Linked DNA regions of Homo sapiens: regions 2, 3, 4 and 5 are each linked to region 1. The links are contacts of gene promoters, found by promoter capture Hi-C in human tissues and cell types (Jung and others, 2019). All regions are on one chromosome and are shown on one strand. Each heading gives the region's core, a stretch centred on a gene start or on the middle of the fragment in contact. The rest is flanking DNA. Distances are from core to core; before and after follow the strand shown.

Region 1 (2,833 bases), core at 141-2,640:
GGAAAGGGTAAGCAAGAATGACTCCTAGACACCGCTCAGCAATAAAAAGCACTTAAAATATTTATCAATATATAGATGAATTCCAACATAATTATGCTCAATGAACAGCCCCCACTTCCCTAAAGATTACGTGCGATACAATTCCATTTATATAAAACACCAAGAAAAACAGGTTGGGCACAGTGGCTCACATCTGCAATCCCAACACTTTGGGAGGCTGAGGCAGAGGGTCAATTGAAGCTAGGAGTTCCAGAGCAGGCTGGGCAACACAGAGAGACCCCATATGTTTAAAAAAAAACAAAAAGCTAGACATGGCGGTCCTCACCTGCAGTCTCAGCTACTCGGGAGGCTGAAGCAGTTGGATTGCTTAAGGGCAGGAGTTTGAGGCTACAGTGGGTCCCGATCGTGTCACTGCACTCCCGCCTGGGTGACAGAGCAAGCGAGACCCAGTCTGTATAAAAAGATATTTAAAAACTCCAGGAAATTCAAACTATAGTGACAAAAAGCAGATGGGTGGGAGGGGGAGGAGGGAAGGAGGGAGAGAGGAAAGGGTTACAGAGAGACGGGAGGAACATCTTCACTGTTGATTGTGATGATGGTTTCACAGTGTATACATGTGTCAAGATGTATCAAACTGCACACTTTAATTTGCGCCACTGCACTCCAGCCCAGGTGACAGAGTAAGGTCGCTTTCCCCGGGCTCGGCCGGCCTCTCCACCCGGCGCTCGGGTGCTGCGCTGCCTGTTCCTGTTGCCACTTCGTGTAAGTTAGCGCAGGCAACAACACACAAGACCAGCACACGTGAAATGGTCCATTTTAATGCACTGCCCCCAGGGAAAGGAACATTACCGGCTTCTGGCCATGTCGTCTTCCCAGTCCCAGATGGCGGTTCCGGGTTTGGGCTCCGAGGCCCTTCGCAGCACTAGGGCGGCGCGAGTAGGGCCGCCCTCCGAGCCATGCTGCGGTCCGAGGTGACGCGCGCACGCGAGTTCGCGGACACGCACGAGACGCCCGGGCCACGGAGGCGCGGGGCTGGCCCAGGGTCCCCGCCAGGCCGAGCTCTAGGGCTGCCGGCCCGGCCCGGTGACCCCCGCGCTCCCCTCCGTCCGCTAAGGCCCCGCGGCGCCGCGCATGCGCCCCGCCGCCGCCCCCGCCCCCACCGCGCCCGCGCCCGCGCCCAACGCCCCCACCGCGGCCCGCGGGCCATGGAACCTGCCAAGGCCGGCGCGGTTCGAGCGCTCCGGTGCGCGCGTTCAGGCGCCTTTCCCCCGTGAGCCCGGCGGCGCTCGGACCGGGCCGCCCGCCGCCGGGCAGCTCCGCCCGCCTCTAGCGCCGGCTGGGCGCGCCCCCGCCCCGGTGCCCGCGCGTGCGCGCCCCCGCCGCCGCGTGTGAGTGTGAGTGTGAGTGTGAGTGGGTGTGGGTGCGAGCCGGGCCGCCGACGATGCCGCGGGGCCGCCCCCCGAAGCCCAGGGAGAGCAAGGCGCGCGGCGACTCCGGTAAGGCCCGCGGCCGCGCCCTCGCGCCCCGCCGGCGGCCGGTGCGGGGCCCGCGCCCTGCCAGTCCCCGGATGCGGCGCGGGGGGCGCCGGGAGCGGCGGGGCGGGGGCGGGGGCCGCGCAGACCCGGGCCGCCGCCGCCGCCGACTGGCCGGGCGGGCCGCAGCGCGGGCGGAATGATACGGGCGAGTCGCCGCCCGGCCCCTCCGCGCGCTGGGCCTACTTTCCTGGGCCGGGCGGCGGCTGAGGCGGGAGGCGGGAGGCGGGTGAGGGAGCAGGCGGCCGCCTCCTGCGCGCGCCCTGCCCCCGCTGGCCCTGCCGCGGCCCGCGCTGAACTTGAGGGAAAGTGGCCGCCCCGTGTTCCGTCCCGGGGCCGGAGGGCCGCGGGGCGCGCTGGGGAGGCGGCCTGGCCAGAGCCCGGGCCTGCGGATACCGCGCCCCGGGCTCCTCCCGGACGGCGCCCCCGCCCGACCCTGCGCGGCGCCGGCTGCCCCGGGGACGTTGGGCTCGGCCCACAGGGAGGCCGTGGAGCGCGGGGTCGTGCACACAGTAGGCGCCAGCGTTGTCCGGGAAGCGCAGGGTCGTGCACACAGTGTGCTCCAGTGTTATCTGGGGCGCGCTGTGGGGCGTGCATACAGTAGGCGCCATTGTGATCCGGGAACTTGAACCCTGAGCCTCTGCAGACGCTGTGGGTAGTGCATACAGTAGGCGCCATTGTGATCCGGGGGGCTGGAACCCTGGGCATCTGGAGAGCGCTGTGGGTCGTGCAAACAGTAGGCACCATTGTGATCCGGGTAGCTTGAACCTGGAGCTTCTGGAGAGCGCTGTGGGTCGTGCATACAGTAGGCATCAGTGTTATGTGGGGAGCGCTAGATCGTGCACACAGTAGGCGTCAGGAAGTGTTTTCCCCAGTAATTTATTCTCCATGGTACTTTGCTAAAGTCATGAAATAACTCAGATTTTGTTTTCCAAGGAAGGAGAAAGGCCCAGAATTTAAGAGCAGGCAGACACACAACCGGGCACCCCCAGACCCTGGCCCTTCCAGCAGTCAGGAATTGACTTGCCTTCCAAAGCCCCAGCCCGGAGCTTGAGGAACGGACTTTCCTGCGCAGGGGGATCGGGGCGCACTCGCCGGTGCCGCGGTTCCCAGGTCGAGGGCAGTGGGGTAGGGGGCGCCGCGCTTTTTCTCGCGGGCGCCGTGGTTCCCGTGCGGCCTTGGACGCGAGTCTCCCCCTGCAGGCCTGGTCCCTGGTCCTGGTCACCCGTGCAACTGGAGCGGCGCTCCGCGTTTGGAAAGGGTTTTGAAGGGGGTTCTAAGGGGGAGTGGGCGCCTAGGAC
Region 2 (2,833 bases), core at 130-2,629, 440 kb after region 1:
AATCTCATGTCCTCACATTTCAAAACACAATCATGCCCTTCCAGCATTCCCCCAAAATCTTAACTCATTCCAGCATTAACTCAACAGTCTGAGTTCAAAGTCTCATCTGAGACAAGGCAAGTCCCTTTTGCCTATAAGCCTTTACAATCAAAAGCACGTACCTATTATACTTCCTAGATACAATGGGAGTACAGGCATTGGGGAAATACAACCATTCCAAATAGGAGAAATTAGCCAAAACAAAGAGGCTACAGGCCCCATGCAAATCTGAAATCCAGTGGAGCAGCCAAATCTTAAAGCTCCAAAATGATCTCCTTGGACTCCATGTTTCACGTCCAGGTCACACTGATGCAAGAGGTGGGCTCCCATGGCCTTGGGTAGCTCCTCCCCTGTGGCTTTGCAGGGCATAGCCCCCTTCCGGGCTGCCTTCATGGCTGATGTTGAGTGTCTATGGCTTTTCCAGGTGCAGGGTGCAAGCTTTGGATGGATCTACCATTCTGGGGTCTGGAGGATGGTGGCCCTCTTCTCACAGATCCACTAGGTAATGCCCCAGTGGGGAGTCTGTGTGGGAGCTCTGACCCCACATTTCCATTCTGTACTGCCCCAGCAGAGGTTCTCCATAAGGACTCTGCCCCTGCAGTAGACTTCTGCCTGGGCATCCAAGCATTTCCATACATCCTCTGAAATCTAGATGGAGGTTCCCCAACCTCAATTCTTGACTTCCGTGCACCTGCAGGCCCAACCTCATGGGTAAGCTGCCAAGGCTTGGGGCTTACACCTGCTAAAGCGATGGCTTGAGCTATATGTTGGCCCCTATTAGCCACAGCTGGGACACAGGACACCAAACCCCAAGACTACACAAAGAAGCAAGGCCCTGGGCTTGGACATGAAACCACTTTTCCTCCTAGGCCTCTGGGTGTGTGATGGGAAAGGCTGCCATGAAGACCTCTGATGTGCCCTGGAAACATTTTCCCTATTGTCTTGGTGATTAACATTTGGCTTCTCATTATTTATGCAAATTTCTGCAGCCTGCTTGAATTTCTCCTCCAAAAATGCGTTTTTTTCTTTTCTATTGCATGATCAGGTTGCAAATTTTCCAAACGTTTATATGCTTTGCTTCCCTTATAAACGTAAGTTCCAATTCCAAACCATCTCTCTCAAGTTCAAAGTTCCACAGATCTCTAGGGCAAGGGCAAAATGCCACCAGTCTCTTTGCTAAAGCATAGCAAGAGTGACCTTTACTCCAGTTCCCAAGAAGTTTCTGATCTCCATCTGAGACTACCTTAGCCTGGACTTCATTGTCCATATCACTATCACCATTTTGGTCAAAGACATTCAACAGTTTCTAGGAAGTTCCAAAATTTCCCACATCTTCCTGTCTTCTCAGCACCCCCAAGGCTCTAGGAAGTTTCAAACTTTCCAACATTTTCCTGTCTTCTTCTGAGCCATCCAAACTGTTCCAGCCTCTGCCTATTACCCAGTTCCAAAGTTGCTTCGACATTTTTGAGTATCTTTACAGCAGTGCCCCACTCTCTGCAGTACCAATTTACCGTATTAGTCCATTCTCACACTGCTAAGAGACATACTCAAGACTGGGTAATTTATAAAGGAAAGAAGTTTAACTGACTCACAGTTACACAGGGATGGGGAGGCCTCAGGACACTTACAATCATAGCAGAAAGGGAAGCAAACATGTCCTTCTTCACATGGCAGCAGGAAGGAGAAGAATGAGAGTGAAGGGTCGGGGGAAACCCCTTATAAAACCATCAGATCTCCTGAGAACTCACTGTCACGAGAACAGCATGAAGGTAACTGCCCCCATGATTCAATTACCTCTCACTGGGTCCCTCCCATTATGTGTGGAGATTATGGGAATGACAATTCAAGATGAGAGCTGGGTGGGGTCACAGCCAAACCATATCAGTGGGATTGCTGCCAGCTCACGCTCTGATGCTTCCCCTCCCAATGTCCAAGCATGCTCTAAAATATTACAGCCTGGACTATGTCTGAGAGAAAGAAGTTACTTGAGTCCTAACCTTTGGCCAAGAGGCTGAAAGGTGCACCTCTTTGCGCTTAATGTTCCTTTTTTCCTATGAGAAGTAAACTTGCTGGTGAAGTGAACAGAAAGCTGAAGCCATCGAACAGAGGAGGCTGGGGAAGCACTCTGTCCCTTCACGCCAGGGAACTGAGATGGAGGTTTTCTTATGGCAGCCTTTATTGCCCACACAGCTAGCATAATGCTTCTTGAGAAGCAGCCCTGTTGGGTGCAGAGAGGGAAGTGTGGCTTTTGATGACCAGAATTTTCCCTGCAGCTCAGCTGCCCAGTGCATGGGCTGGGGAGCATGTCGGCCTGGCTGCCAGCCCCACCTTTGCATTCAGCTGTGGGACACTGGGCATTTGCTCTTCCCCTCCTGAGTCTCAGTTTCCTCATCTACAACCTGTGGGTCATGACAGCATCTGCTTCATAGAGTCGTAAAGGACATTCGGTGAAATAATGCATGTGGTCCCATCATCGGTCCACTAGTTTCGATGGCTCTGTTGTGACCATCGCGGCACTAGAGGTTGTGTGTGGGTTTTGAGCTGCACTTGTTAGAGAACCATCTGTTTGAGGAGAGAACCAACTGATTGGTTTGTATTTTATAGTTTAAAAAATACTAGACTCCCGTAATTAAAGCATTTTAATAAATTGGATCATTGCCTTTTCTTTGAATCCAAAGACAGAGTTTTCAATTAATCACAAACTAAGCTATCTAGCTCTTGTCTTTCAACATGTGTGGAACAGACGAGGTTGCCCTGAGGCTTAATTCCAGTCCCATAGGTTTGTGGCCAGTGG
Region 3 (2,833 bases), core at 211-2,710, 390 kb after region 1:
ACCACACATCTCCACCAGGGGCACTACACAGGGCTCAGGATGAAGCCCTCACACGGCAGGAATTTCAGAAATCTCAGCTGGCAGCAAATTTAGAAGCCCTGAATTATTGATAGCATATTTTCTCTCCTGCCTGAATCCAAAGGCTTTGTGAGGTCAGGACCACGCTGGCTGAGTGCCCAGGGTGCTCCAGGGTCGGGGCACGTGCTCAGACACATGCAGAGAACGACTGAAAGTTGAAAGGGGTTCAGTTAACTCCAAGTCCACGCATTCAGCAGATTATGTCCCACGAGAAACACACCAGAGAGATGCCGACCAAAGACAGCCCTTGCTTCTGCAGTCACTAGTGTTTATTATTATTATTATTTTTAGAAAGAGACGGGGTTTCAGTATGTTGCCCAGGCTGGTCTTGAACTCCTGGGCTCAAGTGATCCTCCCATTTTGGCCTCCCAAAGTGCTGGGATTCCAGGCGTGAGCCACTGTGCCCGGAGGCTGGTTGTTTTTAATGTCCTTACTGAAGTATAAAAACACTGTTTAGTGTTTCTTTATTTTGTTTTTCCTGGCTTTCCTGTACTTGAACTTTTTTTTTTTTTAAGAATTCCATTTTGATTTATCTAGTGTTTTGGGGTTTATCCTTTTTTATAGTTTTTAAAAATGGTAGCTGTAGGTACTTCATTATTTATACACATCCTACATGGTCTAGTGGTGCTAGATTTTGTTAGTTCTAATACAATATGGTCACCTAAACTCTCGTTTCATACTTTCCCTCCCCCATATTATATTATAGTTTACAATATTATGTTATAGTTTATAATATGACTATCATCTTTAATACTTTCTTTACATACATTGAGAACATCAGACAGCATTATCATTTTTGCTTCCAACCATGGAACATAATTTAGAAAACTCAAGAGGAGAAGGAGTCTATTTATTTACCCATATTTTTTACTTTTGCTGTTGTTCTCACTTTCTTCCCAATATTCCAATATTGCTTCTTTTATAATTTCCCTTCTGTTTAGGAAACTTCCTCGAGCCATGCTTTGAGTAACCCTGCTGATGGCAGATTCTCTTAGTGCTCCTTCACTGGAGAATATCTCTATTTATACCCGTCCATGAGGGACATTTTCCCTGCCATAGACTTTTGGTTGACTGGCCTTTTCTCTTGGTATTTGAGACGCTTGCTACTTCCTTTTGGGTTCCATGGTTTCAAACGGAAAATTTGCACGTCCTACAAGCAATGTGTTTCTCTCTGGCTACTTTGCAGCTATTTTTCTTTGTCTTTAGTTTTTCAGACCTTTGATTATGATGTATCTTGGTATAAATTTCTTTGGGTTTACCACATTTGGAATTTTCTCAGATCCTTGAATCTTTAGTATATTTCACTAAACTTGGGAAGTTTACAGCCATTTAAAAAATATACCTTCCAGTTTCACTTTCTCTTTCCTCTGAGGATGACACAGGCTCCTGAGAGTCTGTTCTTTCTCCTCAGCCCACTTCCTCAATGCTGCTCTGAGTTGGTGACTTCTGGCCCTCGTCCAGTCTTTTGTCCTCTCGCTGTCCTGGTTGAGTCCACGCATTGAGGTTTTAGGTTTGTTTGTCTTTTGGTTATTGTGTTTTCTTGCTTTATAATTTCTTTTTTTTTTTTTCAGACCGAGTCTCACTCTGTCACCCAGCTGGAGTGAGGTGGCATGATCTCTGCTCACTGCAACCTCTGGCTCCTGGGTTCAAGTGATTCTCCTCTCTCAGCCTCTCGAGTAGCTGGGACTACAAGTGCCCACCATCGTGCCAGGCTAATTTTTGTATTTTTAGTTGAGGTGGGGTTTCACCATGTTGGTCAGGCTGGTCTCGACCTCCTGACCTCAGGTGATCCACCTGCCTTGGCCTCCCAAAGTGCTGGGATTACAGGCGTAAGCCACCATGCCCGGCCTCCTTTGGTTCTTCTTTATTCTTTTGCTAAAATTGTCTAATTTTCCATTTATTCCACGGGAATTCATACATGCTGAAGTGTATTTATGATGGTTATGTGAAGATCCTGCTCAGCTAATGATAGCCTCTGACTCATCTCCGTGTTGTCATCCATCGGTTTATTTCTCCTTCCAGTTGTGATTATCCTAGTTCTTGGTATGCTGAGTGACTTTGGATCGGAGCCCGTACATTTAGGATATCTTATGAGACTCCCGAGCTGCTGGCGTCTTCGTCTGCAGCAGGTGCTGTCCGCTGGGCTGGGTACACGTGGCACTACAGCCGCAGCAGAGCCCTGACCGTGCTGGGTGGCTGCAGGCAGGTGGGGTGATGATAACCTTCCCCTGGCCCTTCTAGTATCTTCAGGTGGATGTGGGGCTTCGGCTACACTCAGCTTCCTTGGGCCCTGCTGACCCCAGGGAGGCTGTGGGGAAGCCGGTGCCACGGCCTGCCTCCCACTGCCAGCTTTAGCCTCAGTGATGCTACACAGGGAGGGGGCTCCCTCCTCAGCCCGGTTGATACTGAGGGGAAAAAGTGGACTCAACCTGCCCCCTACCCCTTATCCTTTCTTATGGTGAGGGGCTTGCCAGGGAGGGCACAGGGCAGTGAGCAGCCCCATGTCACACTGCTTTGCTCAGGGTTGTTGCTGCCGGGTGGGGTGGAGTGGGGCTCAGCTCCACAACGGACCCACTGACATTGCCCTGGATAGGTCAGGGTGCTGCCTGCTTGTGCAGGGGGTGGGATGGAGCCAACTGATGCTCAGCGCAGCCCGAGGCCCTGGCAGGAGTGGGGGTGGGGAGGTGGAAGGTCCAGCCCTCATCGGCCCTGCTAAGAGCCTGGGGATGGGCCATGTGTGTGTCTCATGAGTCTT
Region 4 (2,833 bases), core at 215-2,714, 350 kb before region 1:
AGCATCTGTGAGGCCCACAAGGACCAAGCCAGGTGGGATGGCGGGGACACCAAAGAGGCTACTTGGCTGGCACGGCCGGACCCAAGTGCTCTATGCAGGTGCCGGGGCCGCGCATCTCCAGGAGATCTAGTCAAGGAGAAAGGCACTCTGTGGACAGGCTCTCTAGACAGCGTGGCACACAGGACGCAGTGGTGCCTGCCTGCCAAGCCTGGGATGGGTGTGAGGCAAGACACCCAGTGGGGACACGTGCCTACAGTGGGGGCTGGAAAAGTAGAGAAGGGACCCTGGACATGCACAGGGGCCACGAGGGCCATCCCTGCTGGGACACGCACAGCTGATGCAACAGGAGACAGGATGACACAGAAGTCCCTCCACCAGGGTATCACCAGGACCTGGAGTCTATGGTGGTGATGCCACGGGCGGTGAACGTGGGGAGCAAACATGGGAAGGGATGCCCTGGGGCAGGACCCTGGTTCTGCAGCCTCACAGGGAAGGACCACCCAGAGGTGCAGGCAAAGGGCCCTGGGAGGCAGGGGGGCCCCAGAGAGGCAAAACCCAGGAGACGCTGGCCTCTGGGAAGTAAAATCAGGCAGAGGCAGCCGTGGCCTCGCTGAACCTGCAGCTGACAGCCCCTCTGGGCTGGCAGGAAGTCCTGCGTGTCTCTCGGAACCTGCAGCTCACAGCCCTTCTGGGTTGGCAGGAAGTCCTGCGTGTCTCTCGGAACCTGCAGCTCACAGCCCCTCTGGGCTGGCAGGAAGTCCTGCGTGTCTCTCGGAACCTGCAGCTGACAGCCCCTCTGGGTTGGCAGGAAGTCCTGCGTGTCTCTCGGAACCTGCAGCTGACAGCCCCTCTGGGTTGGCAGGAAGTCCTGCGTGTCTCTCGGAACCTGCAGCTCACAGCCCCTCTGGGCTGGCAGGAAGTCCTGCGTGTCTCTTGTCCCAGAGAGGAAATGATTTGGGCAAACGCTCTGCCCTGAGATCTCTCTCGCCCTAACTAGATATTAAGCACACCTCGGGGGCAGTGCTGGAATTACAGCATCCACAGGTGCTGGGCTTTCCTGGAGGCTGCAAGTAAGTGCTCAGTCAAGGAGGGGACAAGGCTTCGGAGGCTGGTGGTGGGGAGGTCCAAACCAGAGGGGAGTCCCTGCTGCTCCTTCCTAACTGGGATCTTGAGAAAGACAACAGCCCCAGCCCACTCAAAGGCTACACCTCAAAAACATGTTGCAATCTACATGGGCTGCCTCATTTTCAAAGCAGAAGTTTAGCAATTTCCTGCATTTGCAGGCATGTTCAAACTGTAAGCCCGTTCGATTCCTGAGTTATTTTTACCAAATAAATTCAAGTCCAGTTATCGAATAACTACATGCATCCCATCCCGCTCAGGGCAGCTACATATAAGTAATAAACGAAGGACAGAAATGAGTGCTTCAACTATCTGCTGACTGCTAACTCCCACTGTCATCCCAGGCAGCCTTGCAAGCAAAGAGTAGCTGCGGCGCATTCCAGACCTCCCTACGGACAGCACGCGACGGACGGCCTTGCGGGACTCCCTGCAGCAGCCAACACACCCCAGCCAGCCCGTGCCTATTCTGTGAACTGACCACTTCAGGCCACTCAAGGCATCCCAGGAGATTCTCTGGCTCTGATGGATCAAAAAGGTTCAGAAATAGAGAACTTCTGCTCTCTATGTATACAGAAATGTGTTTTTTATGTTTATCTGAAATTAGAGATATCAAAATTAGGATTGGCAGTGTCCTACAATACTTGTGATTTGGAGCAGCCCCGTGCTCTTTTAGTAAGAAAAACAATCACACTCGCTCTCTGGACAATTTAAAGTCCAAGCTTGTCCAACCCGCGGCAGCCCAACACAAATTCATAACCTTTCTTAAACATTATGAGGTTTTTTGCTGTTTTTTGTTTTTTGTTTTAGGCTCATCATTAGTGTCTTTTTTTTTTTTTTTTTTTGAGACAGGGTCTCACTGTCGCCCAGGCTGGAGTGCAGTGGTGCAACCTTGGCTCACTGCAACCTCGGCCTTCCGGGCTCAAGCGATCCTCCCACCTTGGCCTCCCTAGTAGCTGGGACTACAGGTGTGCACCACCACACTCAGCTAATTTTTTTTCTATTTTTTGTAGAGACGAGGTTTCGCCATGTCAGCCAGGCTGGTCTCAAACTCCTGAGCTCAAGTGATCTACCCACCTCGGCCTCCCAAAGTGTTGTGATTACAGGTATGAGCCAACGCGCCCGGCCGTGTTAGCATCTTTTATGTGTAGTCCAAGACAGTTCCTCTTCTTCCAATGTGGCCGAGGGAAGCCAAAAAATTGACACCCCTGAAAACTGTCACTTGAGAAGAGTAACTTAAAATGCTGAGCCATCTTCCCCATCAGTTCCTTGTTTAGTCCTCAAAGAGTGTTTGTTGCCAGGACTTTATTTATCACTCCATTGTATATTATATGTCCTTCAACAATGGAAGGTCCTGAACCACTAAACCACACTGCTACAAAGAAGCACTTGGGGAGAGCCTCCAGGTCTGAAGAGTTCTAATGTCTCCAACTTCCCAGCCCGATTTTAAAGGCATTTAATGTTCATTCTTGAATAGTTTTGGATTTTGTAATGAAGTCATGATGTTTCTACATGTTTAGCTCTGTACGCCTGAATATAAATAACCGAGGTAGTCAAATCAGGGTGTGCGAATGTTCCCTTTACTGGAAGAAAGTTTTTGCCTTCTCCCAGCAAAATATAAAATTAGTCAACTGTGCAGTGTGGTGAAATCACCAGTCCAAAATTACACCCCAAACATATGATTATTAAGGATTTGCAGTCCTATTTTTTATAT
Region 5 (2,833 bases), core at 243-2,742, 340 kb before region 1:
GGGATTTAAGGATTGCCTAAAACACACACTCTCGACGGCCCCCTTAATGTTCACAGCTAAGCAAAAAACCTGGTTTGTAAATCATCTCCCACACACATATAAAATCCCAAATTCTAACTGTAATAACTTTCTTTTTAATCAATACCTATACTTTAAAATATGTAAATATTAGGAAAATCAACCTTACTTTCTAAAGTTCAAATTCTTAGCAGCCCATAATCTTTCATCAACCTAGAAAATAACTGATAAGCCAATCTTCCTGTGAAACCATTAACAGATTCTGCTTTTCTGTCACCAGGGTAATTTACCGAGGCTAATTTTAATCCTACCACTAAACCACTAATCGCATGACTCTACAGAATTGTCCCCAAGTTTACGTTGCTACGGCAAGCACTTTTACATTAGGAATTCACTTATTTATTAACACTTTTATTTTTTAAGTTGGTTTTAGGAATGAGATCGTCTTGCTTGCCTCTCATTTTAAAAAGTAAAAAGCCATTTTTGAAAAAAGGAAGCTACTTGAGCACCTGGGGTTGCACTGCACTCAACACAATAACGTTAATTTAAATTATGCTTGGTGTTACTCAAAGGGACAAATTATCATCATTATGCTAATGGTCATGCTAAAGACATGAAAAGCTTTGAAATGATTAATCTAAATCTGGGGGGAATATGATTATCAATGTGAATGATGGTATTTTCTCAAACTGGCATAAAAATGTTCTGTCTGTGTCACTGATAATGTCAATATAAATGATGCATCACCAAAGGCAACGTGCACTCACACGCTCTTCGCTCACGTTCTCGAAGCAAAGCCCCAGCCCACCTTTCAGTCCACATATGCCTTGCTTTGGGGACACACGTGTGGATGAATAGAAATTTGTTTACTTCTTTCGTAAAACAGAGAAAACAGGATGATTAAAGCCAACAAGACTGAGACAACGAGAGAGAGGTGTCTGGAGACACATTTGCTTTGGTGTCGACTCGACAGCCATACAGAATGTTAAAAATGGAGGTGGAATCTTCTGTGGGGTTCCATACTAATAAATTCCTGCAACATGGCATAAGAGCCACCCTGTGAATTCAACACAGGTCTACCCAAAAACCCAAACCAGCATGTGTAAACAAAACACAGCCTAAGTGAAAACATCTCAGTTCTGCCTGTAGATAATTCCAGGGCCGCACCACAGAAGCTCAGGGGAACTATTAAATAGGATTGTCCATTTGTTCATTAACTCATTTCTTTAAAAAAAAAAAAAAAAGATGGGGACAAAAGCTGAGTCTTTTTGACAAAAATAATAATAATAATAAACATACTTTTTTGCTCTAGGTTAAAATCACCAGAATAATCAGGAACTAAACAGTGAATCTTCTCTTTCTGACCTGCCCAACTCTTAGCCTTATTTGTGACCCCCAGAAGTCTTAACTACTTATATTCAAGTCTGTGTTTTCCTGAATTAACAGTCACTCAGCATTGAATGGCAAACTATTTCTCACAAAAATTGTATCGGTGGAAAAAAAGTGAAACTTGTTCACTACACCCTTAAGTATCAACTGAGAAAGAATCTGCTAAAGCCACAAACGACCATTCTGTACAACTTTCAATGCATCATTTACTGTACTAAATTTCAAAGAACATTCTCGAATGCTAAAATAAATCAATGCCCAAACACAGTGTCTTGTCAGCTCATGCAATATAGGTTAAATAGTACCATATGGCAAAGACAGACACATGTTGCCCTTTTCTGAAACAAAAAAATTCCTAAACAAATGTCCTTTACTTTCACATGGGAAGAGTGGGGGATTAGAGAGTTCTTCAAGTGTTAATAGCGCTGAAAAATTTTTAATTCTTAGCCATTAACAAGAAATTATAGTTTTAATAGAGAACCTTGATTTTTTAAGCCTGTCTTTAACTGTGTCCTGAAAACTAACACCACATCTTCCTCTACGCACACCATCTCCTAAAAAAGCAAGAAAATAACAGGACAGCTGTATCCTGGAGGCTGAGCCAGCACCAGCAACTCCCCAGGGCGGTGAGAGACGTTGTCTACCTGGTTTTGAAGGAAAAAAAAAAAAAAACACCAGATTCCCTCTGCCTTGAAGATAACAAAACACACTAAGATTTCATCCCATTTTCACCACTCAGTTGAGGAACTGTCTGGATTTCACAATTACATACGATATACATCTCTTCTCGGCCCAGTAAATTCTGAGATTCTATAGACTTTACTTACTTCCTGACCAAGGTTCGGGGGGAAGGTACAGAAACAGGAATACGAAGTAAATCTACCAGAATTAACACAGAGTTAAAATACAGTATATGGTAAGATGTATCTAAACCTACTATAGTTGTCTTTTAAATAATTTTTCCTACTCTCCTGCTTGTGTTTTAGTCATCACTTAACATATATTTACATGTTTGCTTTCTAAAAATAGTTGCATTTCTAATTACTCCTGCTTTGTAATTTTCAGTACCATTTGAATTAAAGATTAAATGCCAGATCTTTTTTGGAAATGACTTTTAAGGCATGTTGAGAGCCACAAATTACACTGCTTTACAATTCGAATGTATACCATCGGAAAACATCTCAGGCTAGACATAAATACGATGATGGCTCTAGCTTTGGAAAGAGAAGCTTCAGCTGTTCAAGTCACGTGTGGCCAGATGCAGAGCATAAGGAATGCAAAACAGACAGTTGCAACTGCTGGTTTTTACCAGTCCATCTAAAATACACTTCGTACACTGTAGTGGATGCTAGAAATTTCAAATACAAATGATGCATTTATAGCCCCTATAAATATATCCTTCCTTATAGCTATTTAAGTCATTCCC

Evidence for each region. The method cuts DNA at HindIII sites, captures the fragments that hold promoters and counts their contacts. A contact is called where the count stands out against the background at its distance.
Region 2: a fragment that was not itself captured here is called in contact with the fragment with the promoter of ZNF236 in region 1 in 2 of the 25 tissues and cell types used here (aorta and stomach).
Region 3: a fragment that was not itself captured here is called in contact with the fragment with the promoter of ZNF236 in region 1 in 2 of the 25 tissues and cell types used here (lymphoblastoid cells and spleen).
Region 4: a contact is called between a fragment that was not itself captured here and the fragment with the promoter of ZNF236 in region 1, in 1 of the 25 tissues and cell types used here (mesendoderm cells).
Region 5: a fragment that was not itself captured here is called in contact with the fragment with the promoter of ZNF236 in region 1 in 1 of the 25 tissues and cell types used here (lymphoblastoid cells).

Annotation. Positions count from the first base shown.
Region 1 is chr18:76,821,167-76,823,999 of GRCh38, forward strand. It overlaps ZNF236 (zinc finger protein 236), which reads left to right and starts at 1,391. Exons shown (of 31, transcript NM_001306089.2): 1 at 1,391-1,496. The coding sequence starts at 1,442. It overlaps ZNF236-DT (ZNF236 divergent transcript), which reads right to left and starts at 1,129. Exons shown (of 3, transcript NR_040024.1): 1 at 850-1,129. RefSeq lists enhancers at 673-752, 793-902 and silencers at 973-1,162, 1,283-2,022. The HindIII fragment of the contact is 16,105 bases long and covers 1-2,833 here.
Region 2 is chr18:77,264,992-77,267,824 of GRCh38, forward strand. All of the region lies in intron 2 of GALR1 (galanin receptor 1), which reads left to right. Among named protein-coding and RNA genes, the nearest start is that of GALR1, 17 kb to the left of the region's middle. The HindIII fragment of the contact is 3,933 bases long and covers 1-2,833 here.
Region 3 is chr18:77,207,644-77,210,476 of GRCh38, forward strand. No RefSeq gene overlaps it. Among named protein-coding and RNA genes, the nearest start is that of GALR1, 41 kb to the right of the region's middle. RefSeq lists an enhancer at 1,683-1,742. The HindIII fragment of the contact is 8,646 bases long and covers 1-2,833 here.
Region 4 is chr18:76,466,473-76,469,305 of GRCh38, forward strand. The region is part of intron 1 of ZNF516 (zinc finger protein 516); the gene reads right to left. Among named protein-coding and RNA genes, the nearest start is that of ZNF516-AS1, 24 kb to the right of the region's middle. The HindIII fragment of the contact is 9,098 bases long and covers 1-2,833 here.
Region 5 is chr18:76,484,623-76,487,455 of GRCh38, forward strand. All of the region lies in intron 1 of ZNF516 (zinc finger protein 516), which reads right to left. Among named protein-coding and RNA genes, the nearest start is that of ZNF516-AS1, 5.6 kb to the right of the region's middle. The HindIII fragment of the contact is 4,856 bases long and covers 1-2,833 here.